Linked DNA regions of Homo sapiens: region 2 is linked to region 1. The links are contacts of gene promoters, found by promoter capture Hi-C in blood cells and fetal thymus (Javierre and others, 2016). All regions are on one chromosome and are shown on one strand. Each heading gives the region's core, a stretch centred on a gene start or on the middle of the fragment in contact. The rest is flanking DNA. Distances are from core to core; before and after follow the strand shown.

The links. The method cuts DNA at HindIII sites, captures the fragments that hold promoters and counts their contacts. A CHiCAGO score of 5 or more calls a contact.
Region 2: a fragment that was not itself captured here is called in contact with the fragment with the promoter of SYTL4 in region 1 in 1 of 17 cell types (megakaryocytes); the score reaches 9.1 in megakaryocytes.

What each region holds. Positions count from the first base shown.
Region 1 is chrX:100,728,097-100,735,501 of GRCh38, reverse strand. It overlaps SYTL4 (synaptotagmin like 4), which reads left to right and starts at 3,381. Exons shown (of 20, transcript NM_001370165.1): 1 at 3,381-3,498; 2 at 3,997-4,084. The HindIII fragment of the contact is 2,913 bases long and covers 1,491-4,403 here.
Region 2 is chrX:100,770,185-100,777,589 of GRCh38, reverse strand. No RefSeq gene overlaps it. Among named protein-coding and RNA genes, the nearest start is that of SYTL4, 42 kb to the right of the region's middle. The HindIII fragment of the contact is 8,719 bases long and covers 71-7,405 here.

The sequences.
Region 1 (7,405 bases), core at 2,132-4,631:
AGTAGAGACGGGGTTTCACCATGTTAGCCAGGATGGTCTCGATCTCCTGACCTCGTGATCCGCCTGCCTCAGCCTCCGAAAGTGCTGGGATTACAGGTGTGAGCCACCGCCCACTATCAATATTTTAATAAAAGTTCTTGCATACAGGTATACCTTGGAGATATTGTGGGTTTGGTTCTAGACCACCACAATAAAGCAAGTCGCATACATTTTTTAGTTTCCCAGTAATATAAAAGTTATGTTTACACTATACTGCAGTCTATTAAGTGTGAAATAGCATTATGTCTAAAAAACCAATGACCTTAATTGAAAAATACTTTAGGCCAGGCACGGTGGCTCATGCCTGTAATCCCAGCACTTTTGGGAGGCCAAGGCAGGAGGATCACTTAAGCTCAGGAGTTAGAGACCAGCCTGGGCAACATAGTGAGGCCTGTCTCTAATAAAATACTTTTAAAAATATATAGCTGGACATGGTGGTGTGTGCCTATAGTCCCAGCAACTCGGAGGCTGAGGTGGGAGTATGGCTCGAGCCCAGGAGATAGAGTCTACAGTGAGCTACAATTGTGCCACCGCCCTCCAGGGTGGTGACAGAGCGAAACCTTGTCTCAAAAAAAGAAAAACTTTATTGTTAAAAAATGCAAATGATCCTGTGAGCCTTCAGTGAGTTGTAATCTTTTTGCTGGTGGGAGGTCTCGCCTTGATGTTGATGGCTGCTGCCTGATCAGGGTGATGGTTCCTGAAGGCTGGGATGGCTGTAGCAATTTCTTAAAATAAGACAACAATGAAGATTGCTGTATTGATTGACTCTTCCTTTCACAAAAGATTTCTCTGTAGCATGCGATGCTGTTTGATTCCATTTTACACACAGTAGAACTTCTTCCAAAATTGGAGTCAATCCTCTCAAACCCTGCTGCTGCTTTATCAACTAAGTTTATGTCACATTCTAAATCCTTTTTTTTTTTTTTTTGCGACGGAGTCTCACTCTGTCACCCAGGCTGGAGTGCAGTGGCGGGATCTCGGCTCACTGCAAGTTCCGCCTCCCGGGTTCACGCTATATTCTCCTGCCTCAGCCTCCCGAGTAGCTGGGACTACAGGTGCTGGCCACCATGCCTGGTAATGTTTTGTATTTTTAGTAGAGACGGAGTTTCACCGTGTTAGCCAGGATGGTCTCAATCTCCTGACCTCGTGATCCGCCCTCCTCGGCCTCCCAAAGTGCTGGGATTACAGGCGTGAGCCACCGTGCCTGGCCTCTAAATCCTTTGCTGTTGTTTCAACAGAGTTCACATCATCTTCACCAGGAGTAGATTCCATCTCAAGAAATCACTTTCTTGGTTCACACAGGAAGCAACTCCTTGGTCAGTCAAGTTTTATCATGAGATTGCAGCAATTCAGTCACATCTCTGGGTTCCACTTTTTTTTTTTTTGAGATGGAGTCTCGCTCTGTCACCCAGGTTGGGGTGCAGTGGCAGGATCTCGGCTCACTGCAAGCTTCACCTCCTGGGTTCACGCCATTCTCCTGCCTCAGCCTCCCGAGTAGCTGGGACTACAGGCGGCCGCCACCACGCCTGGCTAACTTTTTGTATTTTTAGTAGAGACGGGGTTTCACCGTGTTAGCCAGGATGGTTTCGATCTTCTGACCTCGTGATCTGCCCGCCTCGGCCTCCCAAAGTGCTAGGATTACAGGCGTGAGCCACTGTGCCTGGCCTCTGGGTTCAACTTCTAATTCTAGTTCTCTTGCTATTTCTACCACATGTGTAGTGACTTCCTCCACTGAAGTCTTGAACCCTTCAAAGTCATCCATGAGGGTTGGAATCAACTTCTTCCAAACTCCTGTTAATGTTGATATTTTGCCCTTCTCCGTTGAATCATGAATGTTCTTAATGGCATCTAGAATGGTGAATCCATTGCCTTGAGTGGCATGTTGTCATTTACTGATATAAGAAATACTGGAGGAGGAACAAATTTAAGAGAAAAGATGGTAGGTTTAACTTTGGATGTGTTGAATTTGAGGTGTCTGCAGGACATTCAAGTGGAGATGTCAAGAACACAGAACTCAATAAAGCAGTCTGGGTAGAGTTATAGAATTAGAGTTGTGACCATATATATGGTAATTAAAGCCAAGTGAGTGAAAAAGATTATTTGGGGGAGGGAGTATATGTATCCTAGCCCTGAGAATGTCTGACTTTCAGAGGTCAGATAGCAGAAGAGTGGCCTACAAAGGTCACTGAGGAGAGGGCAAAGGAGTAGGAGGAAAAGCAAAAGAGTAAAATGTCATAGATGCCATAGAAAGTTTCAAGGACGAGGAAATGGTTAACGGTGTTAAATGTAGGGGAGAAGTCAAGCAAAATAAGGACCAAAAATACCTTACTTATTTATGGATTTATTGACACTGAGGGTCATTGTTTGTGTATCTCATTGAGAAGTTTCAGTGGGGGAAGGAAGCCAGACTGCTGAGAGCTAAGAAATGAATGAGAAGTAAGGGAATAAAAATTGCAATTTCACCTGTGAAGTACATTTTCAATACATTTGCCCATAAAGAGGACCTGAAGAGGGACCTCCTGTGTAGGGAGGTTCTTTTTTTAAGATGGTAGATACTTGAGCATGTTTAATTGCTGATGTGAAATGAGGGGGAGAGGGATGGGAGAGGCAGGGAGAGGAATCTGCAATTACTGGGTAGGTATAAACATTTTCAAGTCTATTGATACATATTGCTCACGTGCTTTCTAAAAGGGTTTTTAACCAACATATGCTGCTATCAGCAATTAAGACAGCTTGTTTGGTGGCTACTTTGTCATCATTAAGTGTTATTAAAAAATAAAAAATATCTTTGCCAAAGAATCTCATTATTGTTCTAATTTGCTTTTCTTTGATTACTAGTGAGTTGGATATTTTAACCAGTTGTGTCCTTGAGTGTGTATGTATGAATTTAGTCTACGCTTTTGCCCAAAACGTTTCTATTTTAGACAGACATTTATTTGCCATAAAAGGCCACAAGTCAAAGGATCAGAATGGTATTATATTTTATTTACTCAAATTAGATAGTTCATACTCTTTTATCTTCTTAGAAGTGTGAGACAATTTGACAACTTTTGACTCAGCTGAACGAAAGAGACAGGTGATTTCACCGTCTAAGAGAGTGACCAACAGATGGAAGTAAGTGGGTGAGGAGGCACGTCTAGTGTTAGACCCCTATCCTCAGTCCCCAGGCTCCCATTCCTAACCTGGAAGGACATTCCTCTTGTGTCTCAAGGCTTTGGGTCCCAGAGCTCCCTTTTGGGCTGAGTGGCCCCCTGCTAAGGAGCCCGGGGCGCTGTGCGGCCCCTTTAAGAGTCCAGCTCCTCCCCGCTCCAGGGAAAGTTGCAGCTTTTTCCGCCTCCCGGGAGGGTGAGAAGGGCCGGCTGCCGGAGCTGGGTTGCGATCTTCCCGGAGCCGGAGACCCTCCCTTGAAACCGGCACTGGGACTTCTCGATCTCTGGAGGCACCTGTTGCAAGTGACAGGTAGGTCAACAGCCAGCGGCCGGCCCCTCGCCCTCGGTCCGGTGCTCCTTCTGGACCCCCAGCTCCTTTTCGCTGCTGAAGCGCCCCCACCCCCATCTCGGGGTCGTGCGTCTTCCCTACCCGCTCTCTGGTCCCCCAATTTTTCCTTCTCCCTAGCTGACCGCGTCTCCCCTCTCCCCGTCCGCCTCTCCCGACCGCATCCCCAGGCTTGGACTCCCGTCTGCTTGGGCGGTCCCTCCCGGCCACTTTTCTTTCTCCAGGGCTTCTTCTGGCCCCTTCCCTGACCCACCCAGCACTAATGCGGTCTGTGCCCCTCTGGGAGCCGCCTCCCCTCTCCTCTTCGGCTCCCCTCGCGGGGAGTGCCCGGGCTTTTTCCCGCCAGCCCGAGCTGGTGCCCCTCCCGAGAGCTGGCCCTGGGGGCGGGGGCGGGGCCGAGCTCCTAGCGGGAACTGCGCCCTCCAAGGCGTCCAGTCACCTTTTCGTGGGTTCCTCTCACAGCGCTCGGCCGTCGAGCGGGGTCGCTAACCCGCACTCTCTTCGGACCTACGACATCGCGGCTTCTCTGGCGTTGGCCAGTCAGCCACAGGTAAAGGCTGGAGGCTGGTTGGCTGGAGTCCTGCCTCAGTGGGCTCCCTCTGCGCTTGGGGCTGGGGACCTGGCTGTGTGCTGTGGAGCTGCTTTATATTGCCGCTCTTCAAGCAGGCTGTGAGAGATCTGGTACTGGAGGAGGGTCCCCGAGATCTCAGAAGGGGCACAGAATGCTTCTGTCTCCTGTGTTGGTTTGTAATGGGGCAGAAAAAGGTGTTCCTCCAACCCTTAACATTGAATGAGGTGGGATTTGGGGTGGTGAAATCATTTGGTTAGAATTCTGGTGGCTTGAAAAGTGGTGACTTTCTAATCAAGCTTTTCTTCCCCCAGTACCCTGCTTCTTCAGGATTAGAGGACGTAAAATTCCAGAGTACTGTGCTTGGCAGGGTTGACCCTAGACCTTGTATATTTGTGGCAAAAATGAGTCTTCTGTACATCCTGGACCTCCTATATTTAACTGGCTTATTTTCTGCTCTTTAAGCTCCCCACCCCCACCTCTCATAAATCTATTAATATTGAGGTATTAATGACTTAAGACTTTTGTCGCTGTGGGAACAATGTTTAATGCAGAGACGTGGCCTTGATGAAGTTTTCTGCGTTTTTGGTTGTTTGGTTTTTAGCACCCTAGTAGAAAAGCACCACCAACTTGGCTTGTGAGGCCCTTTTTGGGCAGAGGATGAACATTTCTGGTAACACAATTTCAGGTGTCTCACTCTTGGTCAGAGCAGTGAAATGGAGCTGGAGGCCTGTTCTGGGGTAATTGATCTGTGAGTATATGTAGCATTCTGGCTCTCTGAGCTTGTTAGGCTCTGGTTGTTAGGCTCCATTGAGCTGGACACTGTGATAAGTTCTTTACATAAAAATGCAATCCTCACAATAACTCTATACAGTAGGTGCTACAGTTATAACCATATTATGATGAAAAAGAGACTGAGAAGTTAAGTGCCTTGCCCTCAAAATCTCGGAGGCAGAGCTTGTGTTCCTATCCTGTCACACCACCTCTGTTGTCTTAGATGTTGGGAACACTGAATAGCTCATGGATGAGGACTAAGTGATTAAAAAATTGTCTTCCAAGCCCAAGTATATGTTTTTCTCCTTGCTTCCACCTTAGATGCACTGCCGAGACTATGGACTACTTACCTTACTGATGTCTTACCCACTTCATTTCCAACATGGGCCAGTTGCCACGTTACCACTATAAGTACACATCCCTGAGTGTAATTAGATGAATGAAATCTCCCGGGTTTTCAGCTCTGTGGTAATTGTCCTGAAGTTAGGGGAGGGTAACCCTGGATTCTAGGGATGTGTGCCTGACTCAACTTCTTCCTCTCCTGCTGGCTAGGGGAGAAATGAGGGAGTGGTAAGTGATATGGATTTCCTGACAGCCATACCAGAGAGCCTGAGGGTGATCGTGTGCTAGTTTTGTCATGGGATGGATGGAGTACCATAGACAAGGATAGGAAGAAAATGTCCTCCCTATTCCCATCTCTGGGACTTTGCTCAAACTGTTCCTTTTTTTCTTCCTAAAAAGCTAACTTTCCTCCCTCATTCCCCCTCCCCTGACATTAATTCCTATCCATCCCTCAAGATTGAGTTCTAAAGTCACCTCCTTTGGAACGGCCTTACTGAACACATACTTCTTCCCCCAAGCAGAATTGCCAGTTATCCTGTGTCCTAAAGCACTTTGTTTACACCTCAGTAAAGCCCTTAACACTGCTTAGTTGTTTTTCCACCTGGAAGGCTGTAAGTTCTCTAAGGGCAAGGTCTGGATCTCGGAGCTCCCTTTGTCTTAAATATAAGATGTTGGCAAATATTTGTGCCAGTAACCGGACATACCATGCCATTCCTTCAAGGGGCTGAGGTGTAGTGATGGTGGGGTTGAGGTACAGAAGACACCTTCCTGAGGCACTTGAAATACCACAGCTAGGAATTTGCCCTGACCACCCTATTTAAACGTGTAATCCCTTCCCTGAACATTCCATATGCCCTTTCCCTACCTTATTACATTGTTCTTGCTTATTGTCTGCCCTCCCACTCCCTCACCCACCATAACATAAACACCCTGTGGGCAGGGATTGCTGTCTGTTGTATTCACCAGTAGACTCTTGGACCCAGAACAGTCCTTGGTACATCATAGGTGCATACTAATATTTGTTAATGAATTAATGGCATTGCCATTCTAGGAATTTGGCACTCTTGGAGTTAGGCACTCCTGGACCTGAAACTAAGCCTACCCAGTTTGTCGCCCTACAGGTGTAAGTTTGCCCCAGGCCCAAAACTCAGCTTTACTTCTGCTGATTTTTGCTTTGAGATTGCATTCCTGATGCCAACTTTGACCTAGTTGGAAGTACTTCCTCTCTCTTACTTTTTTTTTTTTTTGAGGCAGAGTTTCGCTGTGTCGCCCAGGCTAGAGTACAGTGGCGCGATCTTGGCTCACTGCAAGCTCTGCCTCCTGGGTTCATGCCATTCTCCTGCCTCAGCCTCCCGAGTAGCTGGAACTACAGGCGCCCGCCACCATGCCCGGCTAGCTTTTTGTGTTTTTAGTAGAGACGGGATTTCACCGTGTTAGCCAGGATGGTCTCGATCTTCTGACCTCGTGATCTGCCCTCCTCGGCCTCCCAAAGTGCTGGGATTACAGGCGTGAGCCACCGCTCCTGGCCTCTCTATTTTTTAAAAGTATGAGTCTCTGGGTGGAAATCTCTAAAGTTTAAAAGTGGAAATGTAAAAATGTTGTGCTTCTTGTTGGTAGGAAGGGGGACTGCACTGGGAGGAAGGGGTGTGGATTGTCAGATGTCTTGAGGCTTTTCAGGCTTCTCGCAAGATCAATAAGAGGCTGGAGAAAGTTACTGTGCAATGGGGAAGTGAACAGCTCAAAAGAATAACGGATGGCACAAATTAGGCTTCTGGTTTCAAGTTACCCATAGCCTTTTAGGTATGAGGTGGTTATTGGATTATGGAACTTTATGGAAAAGCCGTAGCTGAGTGCTATTTGTGTTGTACTTAACTAGTTTTCTACCAGGATGACTGTGCAGTCTGGAGAAACCACTGTGTAACATAAAAGAAAAAAGTGCTATTCTGTTTAAAAGTGTTTTGAAATGTTCAGAAAGGAAGAGGCCAGAATCTCTTAGAAGACAGACTTGGAAGGAGTTGGGCCCTTCAAAAGGTGGTAAATATGTGATTCTCATCATTTAATATATGTTAACTTATTTGAAACTCAAATTTGTACAAAAAGCTGACCAGCTTCTTTTTCTACTAAATTTGTCTCCCCAGCCTTTGAACATTGCAGTGACCTGGGGTTCAGTCCCTGGACTTTTCTCCA
Region 2 (7,405 bases), core at 3,181-5,680, 41 kb before region 1:
AAGAGCTTTTACACAACAAAAGGAACAGTCAGCAGAGTAAAAAGACAACCCACAGAGTGGGAGAAAAGCTTTACAATCTATACATCTGACAAAGGACTAATATCCAGAATCTACAACCAACTCAAACAAATCAATAAGAAAAAAATAACGATCCCATCAAAAAGTGGACTAAAGAGATGAATAGACAAGCCTCAAAAGAAGATATACAAATGGCCAACAAACATATGAAAAAATGCTCAACATCACTAATAATCAGGGAAATGTAAATCAAAACCACAATGTGATACCACCTTAGTCCTTCAAGAATGGCCATAATCAAAACATCAATAAACAGTAGATGTTCGCATGGATGCGGTGATCAGGGAATGCTTCTACACTGCTGGTGGGAATGTAAACTAGTACAGCTGCTATGGAAAACAGTGTGGAGATTCCTTAAAGAACTAAAAGTAGAACTACCATTTGATCCAGCAATCCCACTACTAGCCCAATACCCCAACCTTACCAGCTATATTTAAAGAACCTTGCTGGTCTCAAGGTACTGACAAGATGTGACACATTCTAAGCTCCTGAAATCCATCCAAAACAGAGATGGCAGTCTGGACAAACACAAAGATTAGAGAGGCAGCTTAAAACCTCTGGCCACATGGATTGGTGAAAACCTTCTTCTATACAAGGCTAGTCAAACAAGATGGAGAGAAGTAGATATTTTATCTAATGTGCAGAAACCAACACAAAGAATCAAGAAAAATGAAGAAACAGGATTATATTCCAAATAAAAGAACAAGATAAATCTCCAGAAACTGACCCAAAGGTAGTGGAGTTTCATAATTTACCCAACAGGGAATTCAGAATAGTGGTCATAAAGATGCTAACAGGGGTCAGGGCAGCAATGGAAGAACAAGATGATAACTTAAAGAGATAGAAAGTATTACAAAGAACCAAATGGAAATCATAGATCAGAAGAATATTATAACTGAACTGAAAAATTCAGTAGTGGGATTCAACAACAGAATAGATCAAGCAGTCAAAAGAATCAGTGAACTTGGAGACGGAACACTGGAAATCATTCAATCTGAGGAACAAAAAGAAAAAAATGACAAAGAGTGAAGATAACTTAAGTGACGTATGGGATACCATCAAGCAAAATAACTTACACATAATTGATAGCCAGAGTCAGAGCCAGAAGTAGAAAAAAGAGAGAAAGGGAGAGAAAACATATACAAAGAAATAATGGTAGAAAACTTCCCAAGTCCAGGAAGAAATTGGAAAGCCAGATCCAGGAAGTCCATAGCACACCAAATAAGATGAACCTAAGGAGATCCACACCAGGACACATCATAGTCAAATTGTTAAAAGTTAAAAGACTGAGAGAGTATTGAAAGCAGCAAGGGAAAAGCAAATTATCATAGGGGAACCTCCATAAGAATATAAATAGACTTCTCAGCAGAAACCTTGCAAGCTATAAGAGAGTGGGATGATATAGACAAAACCCTGAAAGAAAAAGACCACCAATCAAGAAAACTATACGCAGCAACACTGTCTTTCAAAAAATGAAGGGGTGATTAAGACTTTCTCAGAAAAACAAAAGTTGGGAGACTTTATTACCATTAGACCTGCATTACAAAAACTAAATGAACTTCTTCACCTGAAGGAAGAGGATGCTAATTAGTAACTAAATCATATGAAAGTATAAAACTCACTGGTAAAAGTAAGTACATTGACAAATACAAAACCCTCTAATACTGTAACAGCAGTAGGTAAATCAATTATATTTCTAGTATAAAGTTCAAAAGGGAAAACCATTAAAAACAACTAAAGCTACAATAATTTGCTAAGGGATACATGTTATAAGATGATATAAAAGTGTAACATCAAAAACAAAACATGGGAGGAGGTGGAGTAAAAGTGGAGGTATTGTGTATGCAATCAAAATTAAGTTATTATTGGATAAATTAATCTGTTATGAGTATAAGATGTTTTTATTTTTTAAATTTTAATTTAATTTAATTTTTGAGACTGGGTCTTGCTTTATCACCCAGGCTGGAGTGCAGCGGCATGATCATGGCTCACTGCTGGCTTGAACTCCTGGGCTCAAGTGATCCTCCCACTTCAGCCTTTCAAGTAGCTGGGACCACAGGTGTGTGCCATCATGCCCAGCTAATTTTTATTTTATTTATTTATTTTTAACTTTAAAAATTTTATATTTTTCATTTCCATAGGTTTTTGGGGAACAGGTGCTATTTGGTTACATGAGTAAGTTCTTTAGTGGTGATTTGTGAGATTTTGGTGTACCCATTTTACCTGAGCAGTATACACTGAACCCAATTGTAGCCTTTTATCCCTCACCCCCTTCTCACCCTTTTCCCCTGAGTCCCCAAAGTCCATTGTATCATTCTTCTGCCTTTGCATCCTCATAGCTTAGCTCCCACTTATAAGTAAGAACATATGATGTTTGGTTTTCCATTGTTGAGTTGCTTCACTTAGAATAATAGTCTGCAATCCCATCCAGGTTGCTGTGAATGCTATTAGTTCATTCCTTTTTATGGCTGAGTAGTATTCCATCATATACATGTATATATATGTGTATATATATATTGTGTATACATATATATATATACACACACACCACAATTTCTTTATCCACTTGTTGATTGATGGGCATTTGATGGCCAGCTAATTAAAAAAAAATTTTTAAGAGATGGGGTCTTACTATGTTGCCCAGGCTGGAGTGCAGTGGCTATTCAGAGGCATGATCATGGTGTACTATAGCCTTGAACTCCTGGGGTCAAGTGATCCTCCTGTCTCAGCCTCCCAAGTAGCTAGAATTACAGGCATGCACCACTGTGCCTGGCTGTATAAGATGTTTTGTGTAAACCTCAGGGTAACCACAAAGCAAAAGCCTACAATACAAATACAAAAGAGAAAAAGAAAAGACCCAAGGTATACCACTACAGAAAGCCATCAAACAACTAAGAAAGAAAGCAAGGGAAAAGGAAGGGAGCAAAAGATCTATAAAACAACTAGAAATATCCAGAATCTATAGGGAACTTAAATCAACAAGCAAAAAGCAAATAACCTCATTGAAAAGTGGGCAAAGGACATGAACAGACACTTCTCAAAAGAAGACATACAAGTGACCCACAAACATGAAAAATGCTCATAATCTCTAATCATCAGAGAAATGCAAGTCAAAACCACAAGGAAATACCATCTCACACCAGTAAGAATGGCTTTTGTTAAAAAGTAGAAGACAAAAACAGATATTGGTGAGGCTGCAGCAAAAAGGGGACACCTGTATATGGCTGGTGGAAATGTAAAAATTAGTCCAGACACTGTGGAGAGCAGTTTGGAGATTTCTCAAAGAACTAAGAGTTGAACTACCATTCGACCCAGCAATCCCATTACTCGGTATACACCCAAACAAAAATAAATTGTTCTACCAAGATGACACGTGCATCCATATGTTCATCACAGTGCTATTCATAATAGCAAAAACATGGAATCAACCCAGGTACCCATCAACAGTGGACTGGATAAAGAAAATGTGGTATGCAGACACCATGGAATACTATGCAGCCATAAGGAAAAATGAAATCATGTCCTTTGCAGCAACGTGGATGCAGCTGGAGGCCATTATCCTAAGGGAACTAATGCAGAAACAGAAAACCGTACACTGCATGTTCTCACTTACAAGCGGGAGCTAAACATCAGTTACTCATGGTCATAAAGATGGCAACAAAACTAGTGACTACTAGCAGGTGGAGGAGGGGAAAGGGCTGAAAAACTACCTATTGGGTACTATGCTCACTACCTGGGTGATAGGTTCAGTCATACCCCAAACCTCAGCATCATGCAATATACATTTGTAACAAATATGTACATGTACCCCGACTCTAAAAAGTTGAAAAAAAAAACCTCTAGAAAACAATGAACAAAATGGCAAGAGTAAGTTCATACCTATCAATAATAATCTTGAATGTATACGAATTAAATTCTTCAATTAAAAGACATACAATGACTGGATGATAAAAAAACAAGACCTGTATATATGTGTCCAACAAGAGGCTCACCTCATATGTAAGGACACACATAGACTGAAAGTGAAGGGATGAAAAGAGGATACTTCCTGCAAATGTAAATTAAAAGAGAGCAGGAGTAGCTATATTTATATCAGATAAAACAGACTTTAAGTCAAAAACAGCAAAAAGAGACAAAGTCATCGTATGAAGATAAATAGGTCAATTCAGCAAGAGTATATAACAATTGTAAATATATATGCACCTAACACCTGAACACCCAAATATGTATAGCAAATATTGATGGATCTAAAGGTAGAGATAGACTACAATATAATAATACTAGCGGACTTTTAACAGACCACTTTCAGCAATGGACAGATTGTCCAGACAGAAACATCAGCAAAAAAATCAGAGCTAAACTACACTCTAGACCAGGTGGACCTAACTGACATTTACAGAGCATTTCATCAAACAATTTCAAAATACACATTCTTGTCATCAGCACATAGAATATTCTTCAGGTTGGACCATATGGGCTAGGTCATAAAACAAGTCTCAAAAAATTTAAAACATTGAAATCATATCAATTATCCTTTCTGACCATAGTAGAATAAAACTAGGAATCAATAACAAGAGGAACTTTGGAAACTGTACAAATACATGGAAATTAAACATGCCTTTGGACAACCAATGGCTAAAGGGAGAAATTAAGAAGAAAATTTTTAAAATTTCTTGAAAGAAATGAAAATGGAAACCCACCATACCAAACCTATGGGATACAGAAAAAGCAGTACTAAGAAGGAAGTTTGTAGTAATAAATGCCTATGTCAAAGAAGTAGAAGATTTCAAATAAACAACCTAATGATGCACTTCAGGGAACTAGAAAAACAAGAACAAGCCAAACCCAAAATTAGTAGAAGGAAATGAATAAGAAATGTCAGAGCAGAAATAAACAAAATAGAGACTAGAAAAACAATACAAAAGATCAAGAAAACAAAAGGTTGGTTTTATGAAAAGATAAAATTAAAAAAAAAACTACTAGTTAAACTAAGAAAGAAAAAGAGAAGACCCAAAGAAATAAAATCAGAAATAAAAAAGAAGACATTACAAGTGATAAAACAGAAATATGAATTATCATTAGAGAATATTATGAACAACAATACACTAACAAATTGGAAAACCTAGAGAAAATGGATTAATTCCTGGTCACATATAACCCACCAAGATTGAAAAAAATAGAAAACATGAACAGGCTGATAACAAGTAATTAGACTGAATCAGTAATACAAAGTCTCCCAATAAAGAAAAGTCTAGGACTGGATGGCTTCACTGCTGAGTTATACCAAAGTTTTAAAGAAGAACAAACATAATTTATCCTCAAACTATTCCAAACAATGGAAGAGGAAGGAATTCTTTCTACTCATTCTACAGAGCCAGCATTACTCTGATACCAAAACTAGACAAGGACACAACAACAAAAAAAGAAAACTACAGGCAAATAGCCCTGATGAACATAGATGAGAAATGCTCAACAAAATGTTAGTAAACCACATTCCACAGCACATCAAAAAGATTATACAACATGATCAAGCAGAATTTATCCCAGGAATGGAAGGCTGGTTGAACATATGCAAATCAATAAATGTGATATATCATATCAACAGAATGAAGGACAAAAACCATGTAATCATCTCAACACATGCAGAAAAACATTTAATAAAATTCAACATCTCTTCATGGTAAAAACTATCAACAAATTAGGTATAGAGAAAAACATACCTCAAAACAATAAAGACCATATATGATGAACCCACAGCTAACATCAAACTGAATAAGGAAAAGTTGAAAGCATTTTTTTTTAAGATCTGGACAAAGACAAGGAAGCCTAGTTTCACCACTTTTATTCAACATAGTGCTGGAAGTCTTAGCCAGAGCAATTAGGCAGGAGAAAGAAATAAAGGGCATCCAAATTGGAAAGGAGGAAGTCAAATTGTCCCTGTTTGCAGATAACATGATCTTATATTTTGAAAACCCCAAAGACTCGTCCAAAACACTCTTAGAACCGATAAATGAATTCAGTAGGATTCAAAATATCTCAAATAATATATAAAATATCTCAAAATAATAAGAGCTATTTATGACAAACCCATAGCCAATAACATACTGAATGGGCAACAGCTGGAAGCATTCCCTTTAAAAACCGGCAGAAGACAAGGATGCCCTCTCTCACCACTCCTATTCAACGTAGTATTTGACGTTCTGGCCAGGGCAATCAGGCAAGAGAGAGAAATAAAGGATATTCAAATAGGAAGAGAGGAAGTCAAATTGTCTCTATTTGCAGATGACATGGTTGTGTACTTAGAAAACCCCATAATCTCAGCCCCAAAACTCCTTAAGCTAATAAGCAACTTCAGCAAATTCTCAAGATACAAAATTGATGTGCAAAGATCACAAGCATTCCTAAACACCAATAATAGACAAGCAGAGAGCCAAATCATGAGTGAATTCCCATTCACAATTGCTACAAAGAGAATAAAATAGCTAGGAATACAACTTACAGGGGACATGAAGGACCTCTTCAAGGAGAACTACAAACCACTGCTCAAGGAAATAAGGGAGGACACAAACAAATGGAAAAACATTCCATGGTCATGGGTAGGAAGAATAAATATCGTAAAAATGGCCACACTGCCCAAAGTAATTTATACATTCAATGATATTCTCATCAAGCTACCATTGACTTTCTTCGCAGAATTAGAAAAAATTACTTTAAATTTCATATGGAACCAAAAAAGAGCCCGTATAGCAAAGACAAGCAAAAAGAACAAAGCTGGAGGCATCACACTGCCTGACTTCAAACTATAATACAAGGGTACAGTAACCAAAACAGCATGGTAGTGGTACCAAAATAGATATATAGACCAATGGAACAGAACAGAGGCCCCAGAAGTAACACCACACATCTACAACCATCTGATTTTGACAAACCTGACAAAAACAAGCAATGGGGAAATGATTCCCTATTTAATAAATGGTGCTGGGAAAACTGGCTAGCCATATGCTGAAAACAAACTGGACCCCTTCCTTACACCTTATACAAAAATTAACTCAAGGTGGATGAAAGACTTAAATTTAAAACCCAAAACCATAAAAACCCTAGAAGAAAACCTAGGCAATACCATTCAGGACATAGGCATGGGCAAAAACTTCATGACTAAAACACCAAAAGCAATGGCAACAAAAGCCAAAATTGACAAATGGAATCTAACTAAAGAGCTTCTGCACAGAAAAGAAACTATCATCAGAGTGAACAGGCAGCCTACAGAATGGGAGAAAATGTTTGCAATCTTTCTATCTGACAAAGGTCTAATATCCAGAATCTACAA